Linked DNA regions of Homo sapiens: region 2 is linked to region 1. Evidence: promoter capture Hi-C in 16 types of primary human blood cells and fetal thymus (Javierre and others, 2016). All regions are on one chromosome and are shown on one strand. Each heading gives the region's core, a stretch centred on a gene start or on the middle of the fragment in contact. The rest is flanking DNA. Distances are from core to core; before and after follow the strand shown. Region 1 holds the start of EMILIN2 (elastin microfibril interfacer 2). Region 2 overlaps SMCHD1 (structural maintenance of chromosomes flexible hinge domain containing 1).

Region 1 (6,753 bases), core at 2,887-5,386:
TGTTTTTCCATCATTAAATAAGCAGAAAAAGGAAGCAATAAAGACACCTAAAAGTACACCTAGAAATCCAGGGGACAGTTTTTTTGAACTTTTGAATTCCAGAAAGTAAAGAGCTGAGGCGGGAGGGTCGCTTGAGCCACAAGTTCGAGACCAGGCTGACAACATAGTAAGACACCTATCTCTACAAAAAAACTGATAAAAATTAGCCAGATGAGGTGGCACGTGCCTGTAGTCCCAGCTATTCAGGAGGCTGAGGCAGGAGGATTGCTTGAGCCTGAGAGGTGGAGGCTGTAGTGAGCCATGGTAGCACCACTGCCCTTCAGCCTGGGCGACAGAGCAAGATCCTGTATCAAAAAAAAAAAAAAAAAAAAAAAGGGAAGATGAGGGATCAGAAGGGCGGAAAGACAAGGCTAATCTCATGATTCTTGACCACATCCTAGATGCAAATCAGTTCATCTTGATCAAATGTCCCCTGCGCAGATGACGGGGGTGGGGCTAGGGGAAATGTATTTGCCTGCTGCCTCAGTGATAGTCACTTTCCTTTTCCAACAGGCAATGGAGGGGGCACCTGGGTGTGCTGGAGGCCCAAGAGGCTCACTGCTTCCAAGAGAACTGTCCCTAAACACGTACAGAGCCTGATGAACATCTTACGTCATGACCCACAAGTGAATAAGAGAATGGATTGTATGAAGTAGTTCTTCCTTGAATTTTTGCTTTAGGTAAGTTGGTCACACAATCAAGGGTGTGTGTCCCAAGTTACTATGGGACACTTGTTTTTAAAGCAGAAGAAATTCCTTCAGATTGTTATATAAAATATAGTTTTCAAGTGCTCACTTAAGGTACTTGGCAGCATATAAAAAATTCATACTTGCAGCTTTCTGGCAGTCATATCCACGTTATTGTTCATGGCAGGGATCAGAAGTCCTGCCCAATTAGTCTGTTTCTTAGTGTGCTGAAGCTCTCTATCCTCCGGAAGCTTCCCTCTGTCTTGTTTCTTATGCAGGGCTCTCTGGTTCCTGAGTTTGTTGCATCCCTTCCTCCAGCTGGAGTAGAGAAAACAAAGAGGGTCTCTTGGGATCTTGGCCTCAAATCAAGAAATAACCTTGTGGCTGGGCACAGTGGCTAATGCCTGTAATCCCAAGACTTTAGGAGGCGAAGGCAGGAGGATTGCTTGAAACCAGGAGTTCAAGATCAACCTGGGCAACAAAGTTAGACCCCCCCGCCCATCTCTACAAAAAATAAAAAATTAGCTGGGCATGGTGGTGTGTGCCTGTACTCCTAGCTGCTTAGAAGACTGAAGTAGGAGGATCACTTGAGCCCAGGAGTTGGAGGCTATAGTGAGCTGTGATGGTATACAAAAAATCAGCCTGTTATGGTGGTGTGCGCCTGTAGTCCCAGCTATTCAGGAGACTGAGGCAGGAGGATTGCTTGAGCCCAGGGATATCGAGGCTGCAGTGCACCATGATTGCACCACTGTACTGCAGCCTAGATGAGAGAGCAAGACTCCATCTCAAGAGAAAAAAAAAAAACAAAAAAGTAAAAGAATGGAATAATAGGCCGGGCACAGTGGCTCATGCCTGAAATCCCAGCACTTTAAAAAGCCAAGACAGGAGGATGGCTTGAGATTAAGTGTTCAAGACCAGCCTGGGAAACGTGGTGAGATCCCATCACTACCAAAAATTCAAAAAATTAGCTGAGTGTAATGGCACACACCTGTGGTCTCAGCTACTCAGGAGGCTAAGGTAGGAGGATTGCTTGAGCCTGGGAGGTCGAGGCTGCAGTGAGCCATGATCATGCCACTGGACTCCAGCATGGGTGACAGAGTGAGACCCTTTCCCCCAAATAAATAAATAAAAATACAAAAGAGGGAAGTAACCTTCTGAAAGTCAAGAATGTTCTGTCTTCCAGGGGCAGACCCACAATAACATACATGGGCTTATGTCTAGAGAAAGACATGCAATAAACATTAGCTCACTTAGTTGACTGTCCATCAGGAACGCTAACACCCTTCATTGCATGGCAATGCCTGGAAGCTCTCCAAACACAAGCCCCGTGTCAGTTTGGGCTCACTCATGAATCCTCAGTATTTTTGCACAATGCCTAGCTTGTAACAGATGCTCAGAATGAAATTTATTTACCAATAAATGTTATTGATAGCTGATTAAATATAGTATTGTGGTCATCTCAATGACAAGTTGGCCCTTATACTCTTAGACAACTTCCTATTATAACTTTGATTTGACGGAAAAAACAGATTGACTTGATCAGTTCAATGCACTTTCAAGTTTGAGATTTACCTGTACCAGACACACATTGGAGTTGTTCTCTGCTAATTGTAGACACACACAACTTGTGTGTTTCCCCCATTTCCCCCCCTCTTCCTCTTCTTCATTTCTATACTCTGTTTCTACTCTATGAGTCTTTACGGCCAAGATGGTGTTAGGACAGGCAGGATAGGGAAGTCACACAGAAAGATACAGATTGGGTTACGAAAGACAGCTTTTTATCCCTTTCTGTTATTTCCCCCCCACGGTGGCTCTTTTGAAGGCTGGGATGACTTCAGTCCACTATTTGCATGATCTTCCGCTTAAGAGTCCAGGGACAGATGATGTCCTTACATGGTATAATGTTCTGCTTGGCCCTTGTAGTTTCTACTTAGGGACTTCTCTTTCTTTCATCTGCAAATCAAAAGGTCCAACAACACCATCAAAGAATATTAGAAACAAAATAGACCAATGGCTTCATTTAGTAAAGTAGGAACATAGCAAACGTTTTTATTTTTTATTTTTTGCGACAGATTTTCACTCTTTTTGCCCAGGCTGGAGTGCAGTGGTGAGATCCCGGCTCACTGCAACCTCCATCTCTCTGGTTCAAGCGATTCTCCTGCCTCAGCCTCCCAAGTAGCTGGGATTACAGGCATGTGCCACCGTGCCCGGCAAATTTTTTTTTTTTTTTTGTACTTTTAGTAGAGACGGGGTTTCTCCATGTTGGTCAGGCTGGTCTTGAACTCCCGACGTCAGGTGATCCACCCGCCTCGACCTCCCAAAGTGCTGGGATTACAGGCGTGAGCCACCCCGCCTGGCCCATAGCAAAGCTTTATTCACTTAACGAGTCATGGCCAACAGCGTCTGGTTAGCTCACAGAGGCCACAGTTTTATCTGTGGAGTCTGGTAACCACGCCACTCACGACCCTGTACATTGATTAGATGCAGCAGGTCATCTCAAACACACAGCTCTCTCCAACACCCCTTAGAATACAACACTTGGGTGGTGATTTTACTTAACATTCTGGTACTTCATCCCAAAAAGACATCGGTAGAGATTAGTGTAACTCAACAACAGGCAGAAAACATACAAGAAAGTTTAAGACGGATGTCTAGCAGTGCCTGAACTGTTAAGAAGCAAACGTGAGTAAATGCCTTAGTTTCAATAGAAAAAGAAAGTTCACAGTGGGACCTCAGAAGCAGAGGCTGTGAGATCACCTTTCAAGAATTGGAGGAGAATTGCAGTAAGTGATAGAGCCGGACGCTGAGCTGCAGCAGCCTCTGGGAATTGGCGGGGCTGTGGCTTGTCCTGTCCTGCCGCCCCCCGCGTGGCCTCGGAAACTGTCAGATGGTGCCTAAGGCAGAGTTGGGCAAAGAAAGAACCAGCGTTCGTTTCCTCCTGGACTCTCTAGGTCCATGGAGCTGGTGGGGGAACGGCCCTGTCTTGCCCGAGGAGGAAATTCGAGTCGAGCCCCCACTCCTCTCCCCGCGGGACTGATAAACATGTCCCTCATTCGCCCCGGGAGGCTGGCACCCAGGCACGACGCGAGGACGGCCAGACTCGCCGACGGCGGCCGCGTCCCGGGGGGCCGGGAGCGAGCCTGTCGGAAGGTGGGAGGCGGAGTCGCTCGGCATCTGGGAAGAGACCAAAGGAATGAGTCATTGGAAATGCTGTAACGTAGACCCTTATCCCAAACCCTTTCGCCCCTCCACCCCGAGCCCCCTGCCGAGAAGCGAAGGGACTGGAGACGGGGAGACTTGGTGGGGGGAGAGTCACGTTTCGGAGAGGGAAGTGAAATAAAGAGGGCGGCACCCGGGGGGACCTGTGCGTCATTGAGGGACCGGGGAGAAGCGCAGGGCGCACGGGGCTGCAGAAGGAGAAGTAGGAACGAGAAGCCGGAGGGGGCGGCCGCGGAGCACTGGTTGGAGCGCCGCGAAGCGCCCGAGCCTCTTGCCTTCGCGGGCGGCGCCCTGGCCGCCGGCAGCCTTGTGGCCGGTGCCCCGATCCGCCGCGCTCCGGACCCGGGCAGGCGGGGCGCGCCCGCTGCGCGCGGGATGTGGCAGCCCAGACGGCCCTGGCCCCGCGTGCCCTGGCGCTGGGCGCTGGCGCTGCTGGCCCTGGTTGGCGCGGGGCTGTGCCACGCCGGCCCGCAGCCCGGGTATCCCGCGCGGCCCAGCGCCAGGAACAAGTAAGTGCGCGCCCCTTGGCTGGCCCCAAACCGCCTACCCCTCCCCGGCCCCCAGTTGAGCCCCAGAGCTGCCCTGCCAAAGACGACGAGCGGCAGCCGGGGGCCTCCCTTGGACTTCCCCGGGCGGCTCCCTCTGCGGGGGACCGCGCGCTCCGCAGCCGGCGCCTCAGGCAGAGCTGACTCCGGGGGCGTGGGCGCAGAGAGCGTCCCGCAGACCCGGGCGATCCGAAAACGACTCCCAGGAATTCCATGAGCCCCTGGGACCATGGGTGCTTTTCTTTCCCGTCTTGGTCGGGTCCAGGCGCGCGCTCTCCAGAGGCGCACCCGGGCACCCTCCGGCGTCTGCTCGGTGAAGCTCCCGCCTCCGCAGAGGGCGACGGGCCCCCCCGACCCTCGCTCGGTCTGGTGCCGCAGTCCCCTCTCCCCTGGCCTCATTGTTCTCCGGGTTTACCCCGTGCCCCTCTCCCTCTCTCTCCTGCACCCCAGGAACTGGTGCGCCTACATCGTGAACAAGAATGTGAGCTGCTCCGTGCTGGAGGGAAGTGAGAGTTTTATTCAGGCTCAGTACAACTGTGCCTGGAACCAGATGCCCTGTCCGTCGGCGCTGGTGTAAGTCCTGGAGCCGGGGAGCGGGCGGGGCGCGCCCGGGCCGGGGCGGTGGGGGTGGGGTGGGGTTGCTGCGCTGGGCTCCAGTCCCTCCGGTAAATCCCTTCCAGATCCGGTGAAAAGCCCGCAGCGGAAAAGCGCTCCGAGCGCTCGCGGGGCACCGGCCACGCTGGGCTATTTAGGGAGTGGGTGCTGCCCGAGTGAGTGGGGAGGATGCGCGCGCCTCGGGAGTGTGGGGTCGCGGGGGCGTAGGAGAGGATGAACAAAGCTCCCACTCCCACTTCTGTTTTCTCCCTTTCAATGTTTGTTTGTAACATAAGGCAGCTGAATCTAATTGGATCCATATTGTGTGTTCTGGGGCACACAGAAGATTCCAAAATGTATACTGCTAAAGACTATTCCGTATAGGATTCGCTGAGAGGTTTGGCTAAGTAGTGTTCTAAAACGAGTGAGTTCTGTCCGTATGTCCCCATAAAACGGAATCTTCCAGTTTTGTAGATGTCTAAGCTAAAACCTCAGGAACACTTTGCTTAAAAGTGTGGCTCCCCAGCATCCCTCCCCGCAACTTAGATTTGGAGATTCTCTAGAGATTGTGGGAGAGAATGGCCGTTAAAGACAGGGGGAAGAATTAATCATCTTTTTGCTTATAAAGATTTCCCCATCTTAAAAAAAAAAAAAAACAGGAAGCAATGCAATAAAGTACAAATGCCGTTAAATACATGACACTCATTCAATTGTCATCAGGCAAGTCTTTGGGGGTTTTGTATCAGTCTGATACCGGAAGATGGGCCAGTGTGAATAAATGGCTGTTGAGGAACACATGTGATGGCTGAAATTAATTGTTTTCCACTAAGAATAAGTTGTTTGTCTTAGAGCACAGTTGTCATTACAGCAGAGAATAGTCAGTAGGCGGATCTGTCTTTGGCAAAACCAAGGGACAGACTGGAACTTGTACTCCAGGAAACCTTATTCCAGAGAACAGTAGATGAGCCTGTAGTCTTATGGGAAGTGGTCGCTGGGTCCACCCCACGTGGGCTTCTGGAGGAGCTGCCAACAGGGTTCAGCTAATTCCTGCTCGGCAAAAACAAAGTAAAACAAACAGAAACTTAGACGAGGTCCCCATTTCCTAATATACAGTGGAAAACGCTGAAATTGAATGCCCAGCTAGGCTATCTCTTTGAGTTGGATACATTGTCAGAGAGATAAGGTACTGTCATCCAACCTTAATCTCTTAGTAAGATTGAGACCTCATCGTCTATGGCCAGCAGTCAACGACATCAGAACCAAGCAAGGTTTTTACACTGTGGGAGTGATACAAACTAAGTATTCAACTCAGTTTGAATGCATTTGTTTAAAATTAGAATTGAGTTATTAGTCAGGAATATTTTATTCATCTTATACAAGAACTGCATGGTGTGGCTTGCTATAACCTTAAAACTTACTGGTGACAATTCGGAGATAAATGAATTTTTCATTTTGGGAGGTAATGCATTTTTGTTTAAAAGATGGCTTGTTTTTATTTTCTCAAATTATTTTAGCTGCTTGGAAAACCAAAGGATGATTTAATTGTTCTATTTGACCAAAACTCAGTGAAACTTGGCTGTCAGTGGGGAGTGAATCGCCTCCAGATTGGCAGGTCAATGCAAGGCAGTGGGAGTGCATTTTTGCCACCCAGTGAGTAGGACAACAGAATT
Region 2 (6,753 bases), core at 1,911-4,410, 96 kb before region 1:
AAAGTTTATATCTTACAGTAGTACAACAAGGGGCCAACATTGTACAGTTATGGCTGTTTTAGTGTTTCTTATATAGTGCTAGTAAGACTTGCATTTCAGATTAGGATGAATAAATAGATAATTAACACTGACAAAGTGAATGAAGACAGATATCACAGTGACCTACAGAATGGATTAAGGAACAGGCATTATTGGGGAAACATACATGGTGAGGCTAAACAAAAAAAGTCTTGCAGGTACCTATCCTCTACTTATCTTATGGAGAGCTACCAAATCCTGGGCAGAGCTACTGGAACATACTGATATATTTTAGGGTGAGGCTCCTGCCCTTTATTGTTCTTTTTATGGGGCAAGTATGAACATGGTCTTGTAAAGTTTGGGAACAGTCTTGACTACCAGAAAGTTCAAGATTAGGTATCATTTATTCCTATGAGTATTGAGAAGCTGCATGGGATCTAGTGGCTGGTGCAAAGTTGGAGGCACTCCTTCTAGGGGAAAGAGGAAAAGCTGCTAGTCTTTGCAAAGTTGTGTGTGTGTGTGTGTGTGTGTGTGTGTGTGTGTGTGTGTATATAAATTTTTTTTTTTTTTTTTTTGGAGACAGAGTCTCGCTGCAACGCCCCAGGCTGGAGTGCAGTGGCGTGATCTTGGCTCACTGCAACCTCTGCCTCCCAGGTTCAAAGCAATTCTCCTGCCTCCGCCTCCTGAGTAGTTGGGATTACAGGCATGTGCCATCATGCCCAGCTAATTTTTGTATTTTTAGTACAGACGGGGTTTCACCACGTTGGCCAGGCTGGTCTCAAACTCTTGACCGCGGGTGATCCACCCGCCTTGGTCTCCCAAAGTGCTGGGATTACAGGTGTGAGCCACTGCGCCTGGCCATAAAGTTGTATTTTTATACTGTCTCTTCTGTTGGTTGAAGGGAATTCATTGGTCCCAGCCAGGTTGTTGCTAAGCAAGCCAGAGGGAGTTGGGGTCATATTCAGACAATCTTGAGTATCCCTCCACATATAAAAAATAAATATAAATGTAATGGAGAAACCAGTTGATATCATGTAAAGATGATGTTTCTCTTGCAATTATTTATAGTTCAATCAGAATCCCAACAGGGATTTCCCAGAACCTGAAAAGGTGATCTTAAAAGTCGTATGGAAGATTAAAGTGCCAAGAATGGCTTGTTACACATGGACCTGTTTTCATAGTAATTACAGTTGGAGTTTTTAAATGAGTCTGTTAAATGAGGCTATGATACTGCTGCTCTAAGACCTGAAAAGACTTACTTCTCTGGCTTAGCAGTAAGGATTTGATACCCAGATGGGAGACATACTTTGAGAAAGATGGGTTGAGAGACAATGGACCAGAGGGTAATTGGGACAGGTATAAACATAGGATTTCATCCTATCATTTCAAGTACCCTTTCTCATTTTTTCCTGTTCAGCTATTGCTTTTCCTGTCTGCATGTACCATTATTACCTACTCTTTAGGTTCTATTAAGTTGAGATGGGTTTTAGGATTTGGGAGAAAGTCTGATTTTTCTTCTACTGTGGTCTACAAATTCACTGTTATTCTGAATGTTTGCTTCCAGTAGAGTTAGACAATGATTACTTTCAACCCCAGAATAAAGATATGATTCTAGTTTCTGGAGAACCATCTGTAAAAGGCTGAGAGACCCTTCTAGACCAGTTATTAGGAAATGTGGCCACTGATTCTTAATCTCTTGAAAGTGAAAGCTTGGTTATCACTGTGAATGTAGTATTGCAGCAAAAATTTGAGAAGTGTATCTGAGTAGACTTTCAAGAGAAAAATGAAGAATGAAGATAGTGCTATGATGCTTTGACTTGAGTATGTGTGTACAGTATATATTTCTCCAGTGCAGTCCCCTATACCTGCCCCAGCTTTAGAATATACCTTCTGTGTTTGTGTAAACAAACTTCATTTGATCTATCAGTGATATTGAAACAGTGAACTAGAAATCTGCAACTTAGTAACTGAAATACATTAAATTCTAGTGAAATTGATCAAGATGAGTGATTGTTATTCTACTTTGGATTATATCATTACATACTACATTATTCCAACTAGTTCAGATTTTTAAAATTTAGATTTTAGAAGTATGCAAATACTGCTTTTAAAATAGGAATAGAGGGAAAGAACATTGTAATGGAAGAAAAGAACTTGATTGATCTCTAGAATTTTCTAATTAACCATTTTGTTTTGTTTTGTTTTTAGCTCATGCCTTCAAACCAACAGCATAAAACAGATGAGAAAGGCAGGGCTAATTTGGGAGTATTCAGTGTTTTTGCCCCTAGGTAAGAACCAAAAGTTTGATAGTTGTTGGTGTTATAGAGATTCGTTTTTCTTACTGCTTGCCGAAGTTACAGCTAATGACTATCCTTCTGTTTAATGTTAGGCAAGAGTTGGGACTGAATAGAAGTTGAGAGGTTTTTCTAAGAGTTGAACTTTGCATAAATTGTCTCAGAATTTTTAGGTTATTAACTAATGTAATTTGAACCCCTCTCCTCTTTTGTTTTGTTAGGGGAGAGCATACTCTTCAGGTTAAAGCCATCTATAACAAAAGTATCATAGAAGGACCTATAATTAAGTTAATGATTCTTCCAGACCCAGAAAAACCCGTTCGTCTCAATGTTAAATATGACAAAGATGCATCCTTCTTAGCAGGGGGTCTTTTCACTGGTGAGTATTTCACATACATAAATAAATCTATAATGATAATTTGCTTTGTACATTAGTGGAATAAATTACTTATCCTAGGTTAAGTGTGCTCAGTCTAATGTAGGAGACAGGGAAGCAAATGATTTCAATATCATGTTGCAGATGTTAAGTCAATAGGAAATTAGTTTTTGTTTTACACAAATAATTTTCTGGAAGACTTCTGTTTTCTTAAAAGGATGAATCCCTATACATAGTTTTAAGTAGTGAATGAAGCACCTCAAAGTTTAGATTTAAAAATTGTTGACAATAATTTTTAATAATCAAGTTACATGTATACATAGCTTTTTTTACCCTATAAAGTAGACTATACCGTATATAAAGTTTTAAATCTATTTCAGGGAGATCTATTTCCTGTGATTAAAAAATTAGTAACAGGTGCCAAATGAATGTTACAGGTGGTAAATATAATGGGAATATTATATATATTGATCTTTTGGCTATTATATGCTATCGAAAATCATACAAGAAAGTAAATATTCTGTTCTTGGAATACATAAAGCATATGGTGCTATGACCAATTGGCCTAACTCTTAAGTTGCTGAGTATACATTCTAGTCTTTTTGGTCTTGTATGCTAGAATTTATACATTTCTTCATCAGAATTGTATTAACATTTAAATAACGTGTGCTTTAAACATTTAAATAAGATGTTTGCTTTAAGGCATACAATTATTTAACCATATCCATTAATTGAACTAGAAAGAGATAATTTTTTAACGTTTACCATGACAGATTTTATGATTAGTGTTATTTCTGAAGATGACAGTATCATTAAAAACATTAATCCAGCACGTATTTCCATGAAAATGTGGAAGCTGTCTACCAGTGGGAACCGACCCCCAGCAAATGTGAGTCATGGGAAGCATTTTTTGAAGTTAAAAATAGTTCTTACATTTAACTTAAAACTAAGTCTCCTTTAATGTAAATATATAATGTTATATAAATTTGAGAAATGGAAGTGAATTTACTTCATTCCTTTGGGGTTAAAGAAATTACATCAATGTATGTTTCAAAATTAAAGATTGATGCTATTGAAAAAGAGTAGTCTACATTGTGATGTTTCTTAACATTTTAAGATGCCTACACATTAAAATTATTTCATCTGAAGGACAGTAGCACAAGGCAGAAGCTATTAAATATGAGGGGATAATATAGAAAATGAGATAGTAAAGAGATAGGATTGATAGACTGCTTGAAAGAGAGTGGAGAGTTAGAGGGTCTAGAACAGTGCTGTCCAGTGGAAAGATCATACCTGGTGTTTCTGCTTTCTAGTAGCTACATTTAAAAGCTAAAAAGAAATAAGTAAAATTCTAATGTTTTTAACCTAATATATCAAAAGTTACCATTTCAACATATATTCAATAGTTTAAAAATTATTGCTAGGATTTTACGTTCTTTTATCTTACCAAGTCTATGAAATTTGGTGTTTATTTTACACTGTATATCAGTTCAGACCAGCCACATTTCAAGTGCCCAGTAGTCACACATAGCCATTGGCTACCATATTGGATAATGCAGATCTGAAATAAATCTAAAATTGGGAACTAAAGTTTATCAGTGTCCTGATATAATAATCTACTTCAACATTTATGGTTCATTTTAATCATTGGTTTTGGAAACTATCTTGCTTAATTAATCCTGAATCTTTGCTTGCTTAATTTAGACCATCAGTCCAATCAAGTTGGTATTATCTTTAAATAATATCACCATAAAGTTCTACTGTGTGTCTTTTAATAATGGGGTGTCTTTCCACTGTCACTAATCTCACATTGTACCTTACATGTATTATGAAGATATAAACGTGTGTATATATACCTGTATGTTTATAAATGGAATCCAGATACACATTCAGTTTAGGTATATAATAAGCTTTCCTCCTAAGTATACTATGTTAAATTTTGTCATTTTCCCCTCTCCCCTTCTCTCCTACTCCCCTTTCTAGGCAGAAACATTTAGTTGTAATAAAATAAAAGATAATGACAAAGAAGATGGCTGCTTCTATTTCAGGTATTTCTCAAAACATTTCATATTTTGAATACATATCTTGTTACAAAGTAATTCAACCCTGGAGATATATGTGGGCTCACCTGAGGAAAAGTAATTTATGATCAAATAGAAATGTTAGTGTCTCTAAATTTTTCTCAGTTTTTTGGGAAAAGGTGTGTTTTCGTTTTTAAGCATTAAATTGGTTTTAAGCTTTGTAAATTGTAATTGTATTTGCTTTTGAAACTATCGAAGCCATCAGAAGAATTCTTTTATGTTGTCAGGGCACTTTATAACTTCTTATTATATAGGAGGTTTCTATAAAGATTAGACTGGCTTTTAACATTTCTGTGACTTTGAGCATGTTGCTGCTTCATTCTGGACCTCCATTTTCAAATCTAAAAACATTATGTGTTAAGTTTCTTTACAAATCCTTTATCATCAATAGGGTCAAAATGCTCATTATATTTGTTCAGTGCTTTTTCAGACTAATTGGTAAAGGACCAATCATGGAAGCTCCACCCCTTACCTCTTCCAGTTATTACCGTCTTCCTTCCTGTTGTGCATGCCATGCACACACTCATGTAGACACACACATGCACACACCACAAACCCTCTCCTGATTTGGTCTTATTTAGAGTTCCGTTTATCTTAGCATACATCTCTATAGTCTCTGATTTAGTTGTGCCCATTTTTGAACTTGATATACAATTATTTTCCTTTGCATAAGACTTCTTTCACTCAGCATCATGAGATTCTGTGGCATATAGCTATAAATTCATTCATTTCCATTGCTGTATAGAAGTCCATTGTGTGAACACACTACTATTTTCCATTCTGTTAATGGCTATTTGCATTTTCAATTTTGGGCTATTACAAATAATCTTTATAACACTGGTGCTCATATAAAAGTAAAATTGCTGGGTCATAAGTTCATAGATGTGTATATTTAAATATAGATGTGTATGTTAGATGTTAAATATAGATGTTAAACATAGATGTGTGTGTTTAACTTGAGTAGCTTGAGGGTTTATTTCTTTTTAATACATAGCCTTGCTAGAGTGCAATGCCTAGAGTGCAGTGGCTCACTGCAACCTCTGCTTCCCTGGCTCAAGCGAGCCCCCTGCCTCAGCCTCCCAAGTAGCTAGGACTACAGGAATGTGCTGCCATGCCCAGCAAATTTATTTATTTATTTATTTTGTGTGTGTGTGGAGACTGGGTTTCACCAAGTTGCTCTGGCTAGTCTCGAACTCCTGAGCTCAAAGCCATCTGCCCACCTCAGCCTCCCAAAATGGTGGGATTACAAGCATGAGCCACCGTGCCCGGCCCTTCCCAACACGGTTTTGTGGGTCTTTTCAGGTGTAATCTTCTGGTGGACATGTAATAGAGTGGCATCACACTTACTCTTAATTTGCATTTCCCTGTTTATCATATATTTATTGGCCACTTAGATTACCTTTTGTGAAGTGCCTTTTTTGAGTATCTTAATAACTTTTGTATTATTTTTTATATTAATTTGTAGGAGTTCTTTATATATTAGAGATACAAGCCTTTTGTTTAGACATCTTTGCCTATCCTGTGGCTTGCTTTCTCATTTTATGATATCTTGAACAGCAGTGGTTAATTTTTATATAAGCAAATGTGTTAATCATCTTTTTTATAGTTGATCTTCTTTGTGTCCTGTTTAAGTCTTTCCTTACATTTAGGTCATCAACACATTTTACTATATTATTGTGTTGGGGGTTCCCAATACCAATGCCAGGTTTGATGATTCACCAGGAGGACTCACAGGACTTAATATATAGCTGGGCTCATAGCTATGTTTTATTGAAACAAAAGGATTCAAAGTGAAATGAGCAAGGTAAAAAGCTCATGGGGTGATGTCCAAGGGAAAGCAGACACAGAGGAAGCTTTCCAAGGATTCTGTCTTGGTGAAGTCACAGAGTATGTGCTTAATTCCCCAACAATAAATTGTGACAATGCGTATAAAATGTTGTCAACCAGGGAAGCTCACTGGGGACTCAGCATTCAGGGTTTTTGT

The links. Contacts are between HindIII fragments. The CHiCAGO score rates a contact against its expected background, and 5 or more counts as called.
Region 2: a contact is called between a fragment that was not itself captured here and the fragment with the promoter of EMILIN2 in region 1, in 2 of 17 cell types (monocytes and M1 macrophages). The highest score is 8.2, in monocytes.

Annotation. Positions count from the first base shown.
Region 1 is chr18:2,842,870-2,849,622 of GRCh38, forward strand. It overlaps EMILIN2 (elastin microfibril interfacer 2), which reads left to right and starts at 4,137. Exons shown (of 8, transcript NM_032048.3): 1 at 4,137-4,453; 2 at 4,940-5,062. The coding sequence starts at 4,320. RefSeq lists silencers at 4,355-4,404, 5,025-5,114. The HindIII fragment of the contact is 11,570 bases long and covers 3,093-6,753 here.
Region 2 is chr18:2,747,817-2,754,569 of GRCh38, forward strand. SMCHD1 (structural maintenance of chromosomes flexible hinge domain containing 1) reads left to right here. Exons shown (of 48, transcript NM_015295.3): 31 at 2,227-2,306; 32 at 2,534-2,691; 33 at 3,462-3,577; 34 at 4,672-4,736. Among named protein-coding and RNA genes, the nearest start is that of SMCHD1, 95 kb to the left of the region's middle. The HindIII fragment of the contact is 2,871 bases long and covers 1,726-4,596 here.